Regions from separate parts of the Homo sapiens genome. Here region 2 is linked to region 1. The links are contacts of gene promoters, found by promoter capture Hi-C in blood cells and fetal thymus (Javierre and others, 2016). All regions are on one chromosome and are shown on one strand. Each heading gives the region's core, a stretch centred on a gene start or on the middle of the fragment in contact. The rest is flanking DNA. Distances are from core to core; before and after follow the strand shown. Region 1 holds the start of FAIM2 (Fas apoptotic inhibitory molecule 2). Region 2 overlaps ASIC1 (acid sensing ion channel subunit 1).

What was found. Contacts are between HindIII fragments. The CHiCAGO score rates a contact against its expected background, and 5 or more counts as called.
Region 2: a contact is called between a fragment that was not itself captured here and the fragment with the promoter of FAIM2 in region 1, in 3 of 17 cell types (endothelial precursors, M1 macrophages and M0 macrophages). The highest score is 6.0, in endothelial precursors.

The regions. Positions count from the first base shown.
Region 1 is chr12:49,900,991-49,906,791 of GRCh38, reverse strand. It overlaps FAIM2 (Fas apoptotic inhibitory molecule 2), which reads left to right and starts at 2,892. Exons shown (of 12, transcript NM_012306.4): 1 at 2,892-3,014; 2 at 5,467-5,662. The coding sequence starts at 3,000. The HindIII fragment of the contact is 12,443 bases long and covers 416-5,801 here.
Region 2 is chr12:50,062,918-50,068,718 of GRCh38, reverse strand. All of the region lies in intron 3 of ASIC1 (acid sensing ion channel subunit 1), which reads right to left. Among named protein-coding and RNA genes, the nearest start is that of ASIC1, 8.2 kb to the right of the region's middle. The HindIII fragment of the contact is 892 bases long and covers 2,638-3,529 here.

The DNA of each region.
Region 1 (5,801 bases), core at 1,643-4,142:
GGCAGGAGGATGCTTGAGCCCAGAAATTCAGACTGTAACAAGCCATGATCATACCACTGCACTCCAGCTTAGGCAACACAGCGAGACCCTGTCTCAAAAAAAAGTTGGGGGGACATATACACAATGTCAAGGTAATAGAGTCCAACATCTGAGAAACATCATAGCACTGACAATGTCAACATGTCTGAGGAATATAAGGATTTTGTATAATGCTGTACTTTACTCAACCAAATACTTATCAACCCACCACATCCATGTCAGTCACTATTTTAACCCACAGGTGTAAAGCAATGACACAACACCCCCAAACTCCTCCTCTTCTGTAGCTGACGTTCTAATGGGAGAGAGAGAGAGAACAAAACAAAACAAAACAAAACATGTCAGAGGTGACAATTGACATAGAAAACATAAAGCTTAATCAGAAAAAAGGGACTGTCCAATTTGCTGGGTGGGGGTATGCGGGTGGCACTGCTACTTTGTATAAGATCAGGAAGACCACCCCTGAGATAATGTCTGAGCAGAGTAGTGAAGTTAGTGAGGGAGGGAGCCACGCAATGATCTGTAGAATTTCCAAACAAGACACAGCCAGTGCAAAGGGCCTCAGCTAAGCGCATGCTCAGCCCAGTCTAAGGAATGGCCAAGAGGCCTGTGTGGCTGGAGCAGAGTGAATGCGAGAGAAGGAACAGGAGTGATTCACAAACATGAAAGTGCTAAGGCTGATGAAAGTCAGGCTCTGCGTAGTGCCATGTCTGGGAAATATTACTAGCTACAATTGATGGAGTGCATTCCACACACCTGGCACTGCATTCAGTCCAGCTCACACCAAAACTGCTACAGGAGCTTAGAGTGTAACAGGGAGTCAGTCAAAGAAACTTCACAGCGCCACGTGACAGGCGTTACATCAGGGTGCTAGGGAACTACAGAAGAGGAGCATCTAACCCCAACTAGGGGGGGAAGGAGGCTTCCTGGAGGAGGTGGCATTCAAGCTGTCAAGCAGGAGAAGGAAAACACTTCCAGGATGCAGATGCAGAGAAGGAGGGAAGGCCAGAACCTGGACCAGCTGGTCAGAGCTCCAGGTGCAGTGCTGGGGACCAGGGCACAGCTTGCTGGAAGAAGAGCTCGGGTTTGTAGGGTTGAGAGAGCCTCTGGACACGGAGGCCCAGGCTTAAGTGTGTTTGTGCAAAATTGGTGGTTATGGAGTGGGGGACAAAGGGCAAAAAGGGGTGGGATAAAGACTTTGATAATTAGGCCAGGCACGGTGGCTCACACCTGTAATCCCAGCACTTTGGGAGGCTGAGGAGGGTGGATCACTTGAGGTCAGGAGTTGGAGACCAGCCTGGCCAACATGGTGAAACCCTGTCTCTACTAAAAATACAAAATTAGCCGGGCGTGGTGGTGCGCGCCTGTAATCCCAGCTACTCAGGAGGCTGAGGCAGGAGAATCACTTGAACCCGGAAGACAGAGGTTGCAGTGAGCCAAGATTGTGCCACTGCACTCCAGCCTGAGCAACAGAACAAGATTTTCTCTGTAAAAAAAAAAAAAAAAAAAAAAAAAAAGACTTTGATAATTTGTCTGCCTACCTGGGCCCTGCTTTCTCAGGGACTTTAGGTGGGTCCCTGGGCAGTGAGAGGGAAGCAGAAGGTAAGTGGCCACCCCCACCTGTCCCAGGTCTTAGTTTCTCGTCCCATCCTAGCAGGTTCAGATACTTCTTTTAGGCAGATTTGTGGGTGCTCGCTCTGGGGCAGCCCAGGACATTCTGGTAGGAGACTCCTCAGTTAATAATACCTCACATACTTCCAGCACTTCTTGGTCTTTTATGTGCTTTTACGGCCATAACCTGTGCGTCTGACAGTCAATCTAGGATGGACAGAGCTCTGTTCTAAGCCTCTTTTTCGTAGGAGCTGCAGCTCAGAGAGGTTAAGGGCCTTGCCAAGGCCACGCGGCCAGTGGGTGACTAAATTGGGACTTGATCCCAGCTCTTGAGATTGCAAACCCCATAGTGACACTGCAGCAGCTACAGAAAACGGGGCCTGATGATGGCTGGGTCCCAGTGACACGTCTGGGGAAGCGGGGAGAACGAGCTCTGGCATGGGAGGAATGGAAAAGGGGGGAAGATGGAGACGGGGTGATGGAAGCTAAGCGTGGAGGCAGGAAGAGAGCTCTGGCAGGGGTTGTAGAGGCTTTGAGACAGAACTAGCGGTGTCTCCAGAAAGACCCCGTGAAATGTCCCAGCAGGGCTGAAAGAAACAGAAGAGGTGTCCTCCCACCCCATGTCTCTGTGAACCAAGGCAGGGAGGGACCTACTGTGTGCATTTCACAGGCGAGAAAAAGGAGCAAGGATAGGTGGCTATTGGCTTGCCCCAGGCCCACAGGAGCGCAGGGCCCAGGGGCCCTGTTAGAAGCGGGCAGCACAGGCGAGACTTCCAGACCTTCCCCTCTACCAGGGATGATGAAATAGATGATGAGAGGGGAGGTGGAGATGGAGACAGAAATCAGGGCCGCATCCAAAGAGGGAGGAGGAAAAGGCAGAGGCGCAGCTGGAGCTGCAGAGAGGTGCAGAGACAGTGGAGATGAGGCCCTGATGCCCGGCTCTGGTTTCACGCGGGCAGCGTCAGCTGGTCGGTGTCACGGAGTTCCCGCGTCCTCCGCCCGCTCAGCCCCCGCGGACCCATCCACTGGGGTTGCTCCGCAGCGCGACTCTCTCTCATCCCGGGGGAGGGCTAAGGGCGGCGGTGGGGGGCGGGGTGGGGGGGAAGCGGCGGGAGGGGGCGGTGCGCCGCCGCCTTACCCCGGGCTCGCGAATCCGCAGCGTCCTCCGCAGCATCTTCCCAGGCCCGGCCCTCTCCTCCCCCCGCGCCGATGGTACGCGCCGGCTCGCCTGGCCCGGCTGCAGTGGATGTTGCTAGAACCCACGCGGAGGAAGGAAGAGACGCAGGCAGGCTGCGGTTACCCAAGCGGCCACCCGGGCCTCAGGGACCCCTTCCCCGAGAGACGGCACCATGACCCAGGGAAAGGTACCGGCATCTCCCCAGCCTGCACCATCCTCCATCCTCCGGCTCCCGGCTCCCTGTCATCCTCAGCAAGCCCTCTGGACCACGAAAGCATCCTCCCCTGGCCCTAGTTTGAAGGTCCTCCGTGGTCCTTGCTGAAGTCAGAGGACCGAAAGGCCGGTGTCAAGGAATGGACCGAGGCCTCTTCCTGCCCGCAGGCGCGCCTCTCCTCCCCTGTCACCCTGCCACCCCTGCTTTGGCATTACAGCATTACAAGGCTCCTCACAGATACCCAGGCCCCCCGTGAGGAGTCAGCCCGGGCGTCTGGTGTGACTGTATGTGTGTGCATGGGTATGTGTGTGCCAGGGTGAGCCCTGAGGGGCAGTGCCTATCGGGCAACCCCCTCTGGCCCAACCCTCCAGTCCCAAACCCAACCACTTTATGCTCATCTTTCCCACCCTCCACGGAAACAACCCCCACCCTACTCCCTGCCATTGTTCCACATCTGGGCGTCTTGGCTCCATCCCTGTGCTTGGGGCTTGCTATGACAACTCTGCATCAAGATGCTCTAATTGTTGTTTTGGTTTTGGCCAGGCATGGATGGGTCCGGATGAAGCATCTCTTCTCCAGTTTTAGGCCTGAATTGTAGGGGAGGGGCTGGGGCAGAGACTCGGCTGGCCTAGTAGGCTTATGTAACATCAATAGCCTGTGGAATTATACAACCACTAGGGCCTGGGGCTAAGGGGGAGGGTACTCGGGCCCTCTGTTTGGGTTGCTAAGGATTGGGCAGAGAAAACAGGGGAAGGACCTCCCCTACACTCCCCCTTCTTCTCTTTGAGAGGAGCTTCAGAGCCAATGACATCCTTCCCTGGACCCTCAGACCCTCCTCTCCCTGTATGCAAGCTCTTTGGGCCTCAAATGATGTCACTGGGTGATACCACCTCCCGCCATTGGTCACACCTCACTTGGGAGTGCCGTATGTGTGTCGGGGGCCTGGGCATTAGGGTCCAGGAGGCTCTGGGGGGCGGAGTGGCAGGGTGGAGGCTGAACTCGATTTAGGTGGACATGATCCTTCAGATCCGGGTGATGAGGGGGGCTGGGGAGTGGGAGGCAGTGGGAGGCCTGGGGAGTGTTCAGTTCCGTAAACATGGAGAACTCACCCCTTCTGCTGAGTCTCCTTCCACCTCCACCCTGCCTCCACCAGGCCCTTTAGTGGCGCTGTTCCCTTCCTGGTGTGAGGGGGACCTCTGCCTCCTCTGCCCCTTGTCCCCAGCTCACGCACAGGCTTGCTGGGGGATGGAGAAGACCGCTCCAGTTCAGTGGTCCTTGGGCCTGGATGGAACCAGAAGTCTTCTGGTGCGTGCCTGTCTCCAGGCTGCCTCAGCCAGATGCTCCCTGCAAAGAAGGAAGTCCGCAGTCTTCCTCAGTGGCCCTTTAGGTCTAACACAGTCTTCTGGGAACCAGACCTAAATCCCATTTTCTGAGAGCCGGGCTTTTTGTTGCTGTTTCAATTTCACACCACCCCCTCCACCCCAGTCTTTCCTTCTCTGGCTGCCTCATTCAGGCCTTCCCAGCTCAAATCCTCTCACCAAAGCTAAACATGTCCACGGGTGGGGGGCAGGGGACACATCTGAGTGTAAATGGACTCGCATTTCCAACCTGCCATGGGGACGTTTCCCTTTGAGCCTCAGTTTCCTCATCTGTTCAGTGACGGAAGAGACTCAACTGGATGTCTTCTGAGGCCCCTTCCACTGGGTCACTCTGTGAGTCTGTTCTGGTTTAGGGGAGAGGCTGAGATTCCTACAGGATGAGGCCAGAACAGACCCTTAGCCTGGATCCTCTTGCCCTTCCTCCACCCTGAAGGCCCTTCTTCTTTTCTGTTTTCTCCCTCTCCTCTTCCCTTTCTGTTGCCCTTCTCTCTCCCATCTCCATTCTCCTTGCATCACTTCCAGCGCAACAGAAGGATCAATCCCAGTGGATGATGCCTAGGCCCTGCCTCTCAGTGGGCCACATGCAGCTCTGTGACCTTGGATGAATCGCTCTTCCTCTGTGATCCTCATTCTCCTCATTTTAAAGCAGGGGTCAAAATGCAGCTAGCAAGTCTCAGGAAGATTAAATGACATAACCTTTTATTTGTAACAATCTACTATGTGCCAGGCTCTTTTCTGGAACCATAGAGACCCTGCCCCTACCCCAGGGACAATGACAGTGACAACCAATGGTGGACACTCCTAAGAATTTTCTCTTTCCTCTGTTCCTATCCCAGCTCCACCATGTGCCCCAGCTAGCTCTGACCCCTCTGGAGCTTAGTTCTCTTGTCTATAAAATAGAGACATTCTTGTCTGCATTCCTGGCTTCCAAGTGCAGGTAAGGAAGGAACCATGAAAGTTCCAGGAATTGAAGAGTTGGTGAGGAGGAGGAGTTGGAAGGCTCCCTTTCCCTGGTGACTATCTCTCTCTCTGACTCTACTCCATAGCTCTCCGTGGCTAACAAGGCCCCTGGGACCGAGGGGCAGCAGCAGGTGCATGGCGAGAAGAAGGAGGCTCCAGCAGTGCCCTCAGCCCCACCCTCCTATGAGGAAGCCACCTCTGGGGAGGGGATGAAGGCAGGGGCCTTCCCCCCAGCCCCCACAGCGGTGCCTCTCCACCCTAGCTGGGCCTATGTGGACCCCAGTAAGTCTTTCAGCTCCTGGAACCTGAAGCATCATGGGGTGGGGGTGGACCCAGAGGGAAAACCTGAGTAGGAGGAAGTTGTCCAGAAAGAGGTACACTGTGTGGTTGTATGAAGCTGTGTTGTTAGATGCTTAGGATT
Region 2 (5,801 bases), core at 1,834-4,333, 160 kb before region 1:
ATCAGGCACACAGGTAAAGAACTAGTTTGGGAGGTAAGATGATGACTTTGGTTTTGCACATGCAGGTTTTGAGGAGTCTTAGGGACATCCAAGTAGAGACGTTAAGTGGGAAAATTGGCGACTGGAGCTGATGCTAAGAGGAGAGAGCTGGGCTGAGACATAAATTTGGCAGTTGTCAGTGTGTAGATGGTAATTGAAGTGATGAGTGAAGATGAGACTGCCCAAGAATAGAATATAAAGTTTAAAAAAAAGATAGAAAAAAAGGTCTGATTTGGCAGTATCCACTAAAGCTAAACAGAATCATACCCTATGACTTAACCATAGCTCCATAGCTAGTCATGTGCCCAGGAGAAATGAGTGCATATATCAACCAAAAAACATGAACAAAAATGTTCATAGTAGCTTTATAGATAAGAGCCAAAAACTAGTAACAACCCAAATGTCTAGCATCAGTAGAATGGATCAATTGTGGCATATTCATATAATGAGATACTATACAGCATCAAAAAAGAACTAACCACTTCCACACACAACAACATGGCTAAATCTCACAGACGTAATCACAAGCAAAACAAAACAAAACAAACAGACACAAAAGAGTATACACTGTATGGAGGATACATATACTCCAAGAAGTTCAAGAATGAGGGAAATTGATCTATACTGTTAGAACAGTGGTTAACTCTTATGGGGTAGCATTGACTAGGAAACAGCCTGAAGGAACTTTCTGGGGTACTGGAAATGTTTTATACCAATGCAATATGCAAAATACTACACTGTAAGACATACCAGTGTAAAAATTTTTCAAGCTGGTGCATTGTACTCTTATGATTTAAAAGAAGATTAAAGCTTGAGACTGAGCCTTGAGTAGTGATGACACTAAATGGCCAAGTAGAAGAAAATGAACTGGCAAAGAGACAGAGGAGTGGGTAGACATAGGAGGAAAACAAAGAGAGTATGATTGTCAGGAAAGCGAATAGTTCAAAAAAGAGGTGGTGGGGTCCGGGCGCAGTGGCTCACGCCTGTAATCCCAGCACTCCGGGAGGCCGAGACAGGCGGATCACCTGAGGTCGGGAGCTCAAGACCAGCCTGACCAACATGGAGAAAACCCGTCTCTACGAAAAATACAACAACAACAAAAAAATAGCCGCGCATGGTGGCACGCATCTGTAATCCAGCTACTCAGGAGGCTGAGGCAGGAGAATTGCTTGAACCCAGGAGGCGGAGGTTGCAGTGAGCTGAGATGGTGCCACTGCACTCCAGCCTGAGCAACAAGAGCAAAACTCCGTCTCAAAAAAAAAAAAAAAACAACAGCAGAAGAGTTGGTGGGCAACTATTTTAAATGCTATTGAGAGATCAAGAATAATAAAAAAAATATTTGCTGGATTCGGCAACATGAAGGTGACCACTGGCCTTAGCTAGAACCATTTAGGAGGAATGGTGATGATGGGGGAAGAAGGCAGCCTGGAGTGGATCAGAAAGTGAGTTAGAGATGAGGAAATAGAAACAGTGAAATAAACATATCACTTTTAGGAACTTTGTAAAGGGAAGCAGAGAGATACTATAGGAGCTGGCAGGTGCTGTGGAGTTGAGAGACACATGTTTTAGTTTTTATCTTAGCACAAAGACCGATACATAGCAAGTTCTCAATATATGTTAGCTGTCGTTACAGCTATGTATTTTAAGACAAGAGCATCTTCAGCATGTTTCATTGTCAATGGGGTTTCACTTGAGAAAGAGCGACCAACTGTAGAGCAGGGAGAGACAGAATTAGCAGGAGAAAGATCTTAAAAAGGCAGAGGGAATAAGATGAAAATTCTAGGTTGAGACTTTATCCTAGATAAGATGAATGTTCCCTTCTAGGGCTTGGTACCCAGAAGAAGGACAAGATCTTGTCTGAGGCTTCTATTTTCTCAGTGAAGTAAGTGGTAGCCAAGGTCATCCGCTGAGGGTGAGAGAGGAGCTAGGAAGGGTGACTGAGAAGAGTGGAGAAGTTCGAAGTAGTCATCAGAGAGAGCAAGCTGACCAGGAAAACACAGTGGGGTTGCCAGGCAGCACTGCACGCCCATTTAAGGATGTTGAGCATGAACGCAATGTGATACTAAGCTGCCCTGGTATGTGACTTCCTCAGGGAGGTCCTGACTGCCCTGGTGTGACCCTGGGGAAAGCCAGTGGTGGGTTCACCTAAGATTGGCACTTGGCCTGATGATGCAATGAAAAGACAAAAGCATCAAAAAACTAGGCCTACTCAACTTGGGAACGGGATTCCTAGGGTCTCTTCTCTATACCCTTTCTTGCCCTTCCTGCCTCTCCACACTGCTTCTCAACAGAGCACCCTCCTCCATACACACTCCTACAGCCACACACAAAGAACCCGGACTTAGAAGATCTGAAGTCAGGGTCCCACTCTGTCATTTCCCAGCTGTGTGACCTCAGGCAAGTCACACAACTCCTCTGAGCCTCAGTTTTCCCATCTTTCCAATGAAGATGTTAATAATTTCCTTCCTACAAGAATTATGAAGATCACGTGAGCTAAAGTAAAGGGAATTTGTAAATTGCAAAGCACAACTGAAAGAGATGATTAATTTTGCTAGTATGTGCTCTGCATGCAACCAGAGGTTTGCCTACACAGAAGCTTTCTCTCACAGCCACACACACCAAGCTGCATGGGCCCCCATACACCTCCACATGCTTCCACTTCACACTCTACATTCACACTCCCCTGCAGACACACACAGAGGTGCACATGTGTGCTTGCATGCTCGGGGCGCATATGTGATGAGGGTGTTGTGAGGAAGTCTGAGATGGCTGCTGTCCATGGCCAAGGCCACTGCCACAGTCTCACCCCCAGGGATGTTCTCAGCCTGGCATGCTGGTGTGACACCAACTAGAGACACATGGCACTAAGCTGCACAGCCCAACCTCCTGGGCCCCCAGAACTGTCAGCCACACAGAGGGCATGCAGAAGGGTGGGAAAGCATTTTCTATCCAAGAACTCATGGGATCTCAGAAAGATCACAATTGACCCTCCCTCTCCCTGGAGAGTGGCCTTGGAGAGCCTGGGGTGGCAGTGTCTGTCCTTACAGTTCCTTAAGGGAACTTCCCTTTCAAGTGAATACACAGCAGCTTCATGATCATTTTTAAATATTCTATGAGGAAGATGTCCAATTCCTGTGTCCAGGTAGGTTGGCGCTGCACATCCATTACACATGGGGCACCGTGGGCTTGGCCAAAGAGTCCCAGAGGAAGGACTGCCCCTCAATAAAGAATAATTTTACAACCTCCTTACAGGAGATTGGGCTTAGAAGCTAAGAAGTGGGGCCAGGTGGAACTTTGCCCAAAATAGAGACCAGGAGCCCTAATGCCCAGTCCTATCCTCCACCCAGCTAGGCACCCCTTCTCATTCTCGCTGTCTCCTTCCAGCTTTGCCTCCCAGAATGCACACCTAAGGGTCCTGACTGGGACGTTATAGGTCAGAAGGTAGAGGCTTCTGCATTGGCCACCCCAAACATACAAGTGAGGGAAAGCTTGGGGGTGGGGGTGGGCAGGGGTTGGCCAAGGCGGAAGAATGGCCGGAGAGAATTGGCCGGTTGATTTAGTTAGCTGGGGAGACACCAACATATTCTATGAACCTGGCATTTTCCGAGAGGCTGAGTTTGGCTGGGGAGATTGGGAGGACTCCCCCTGGATGTTGAGAGTCTGCTCATCCCCAGCATGTTCCCCCTTGTTCTGAAGCCCACCCCACTGGGCCCCCTTTAGTACCACCCCCATGGCTCTCAGCCCTGAACCTTCCGTGCTGCACTTAACTGCCCCAGCGCAGGACCTGGCACATGGAAGTGGCACTGTCTGCTATGGGAATGAATCCAGTGGAGCTTAACGCTCCCCTAATCCCAGCTTCTCATTCTGAATATTCTGTCTCCCTCGCTATCCCCAGAGAATTGAAATTACTTTCCACAAAACTGAAACACACTCAGAAGCAACCTCCATCCACAGCAGAACATTCCAAGCCTCTCTGTGGGCCTGCCCTTCTGCCTCCAGGACACACTGGGCATGCAGTGGCCATATCCAGGAGTTCTCCACCAGCTGGGCAGTGACAAAGTCCCAAGACTTAGAGGTGCTCCTCCCCAGCCCTCCACTTCCAGGCTTGGCCCCCAGAGGCACTTAGTTACTGAATTCCCTATTGCTTTAGCCAACAGCCCCCAGGTCAATTAGCTTAGAGTAGTTCTTAGCTGATAGCTGTCTGAGAGAGGGATGGAGTCAGAAATGGCTGGGGTCTGGGGAGAAGGGGAAGAGGTGAGAGAGGAAATTGGGCTACCTGAAGGATGTTTGTGTGTATCTGTGTCTGAGAGAGAGGCAAAAGGAGACATCTGAGACCCCAACCCAGGGACCACCCACTGGATTCCTGCAACTGCAATGGGCTCTGCTCCCATCTCCTCTCTCCACCCACCTGTGTTCAGTTTAGGCACTTCCTAGGAGAGAGGGACAGATGAGAAGGATAAGGCAGGAGGTGGTAGCCATGAACCCCTAGGGCAGGAACCCTTCCCCCAAAGTTCATGAACCCCATGAACCCCTCCTCTAAAGTTACTGTCTCCAGGTCGGCCTCTTCTATCCCTCTGCAATCTGTGCATGTTCCCCCTTCCCACCCATGAAGACCACCAGGCCTCTGGGTGGGGCTGCCCAAGATTCCCCTTCCCCTGTCTGCATGGCAGTCTGGGCAGCCTTTCCCTTCAGCAGCCCCTCCACTCCCTGCCTAGCTGGAGGGTGCAGACCCCAGTAGTAAGGTCAGGCCCTCCCAAGGGACTTCTGGTCTGAGCTTCTATGGGGCAGCATGGGGTGTGGGGATGAGGGGTGAGCCCTAGGGATGAATAAACTCCATGCTAGTCCTGGCTCTTGCTGGGCACTGCCATCCCTGGCTCTCCTGCTTTAAGATGACTTCTCTCTCCCCACTTTGGGTCCCAGGATCAGGCGCCCACAGCCACCTCTCATTGCAGCATCTTACTTCCCTAGGTGCTCCAGGGGATGCCCGGGCCCCTTCAGAACCTAGCAGTGGATTGCAGGGGAGGCTTCTGTGCTCATCCCCATTCACTCCACCTCTTCCCTGGGAGATTCTGGTCTCCAATCCAGGGTCCTGAGAAGGACTCCTGTGGACCCCTCCCAGGGATTCCTGTCCCCCAATTTCACCCTCCTGAGAGAGATTATGAGTCACACCACATGTCCACCCCAGCATTTCCACTCTGTCCTCCTCTTCCTTCTCTTCCAGGCCCCAGAAATGAATTCCTGCTTCTCTCTCCGCTAGGCAAAGGGTCTAGGTCTCAGCGGAGGAGGGGGTGGCATAGGGCAGACTGGGTGACCATCTGCCAGCCCCCTCCCCTTGCTGCTGCTCAGCATTCTGGCCACATCAGCTGCTCCCACTGCCAGGGACAGATAAGGTGCAGCTGGAGGATGGCACCAGCTGCGACTGTGCTCACTTCTCTGGCCCCCACCCAGACACCAGCAGACAGCTGCACCCCAGCCCCCCTCCATGGAATCCCTGCCCTGCCTTGGCCTGGCTGGCCTCAAGGTGGGGCAGGAGAGAGGAGCCATGGACCCCATTGTCTTGGCAACAACACACCCTACCAGGAAGAAAAGGAGGTGGCCGGGAAGAGGGGGCCTTGTGGTTGGGTCACTGTGGTTGCTCAGGAGGCAGCTATTGAAACCTTCCCAGCCAGGTTGCTGTGGGGATACTCCCTGCCCTGCCCTTCTCCCTCTTCAGTCCCGAAGGATTTCCAAACCAGTCTCTCCCAGATTCAGCTCAGGCTCCC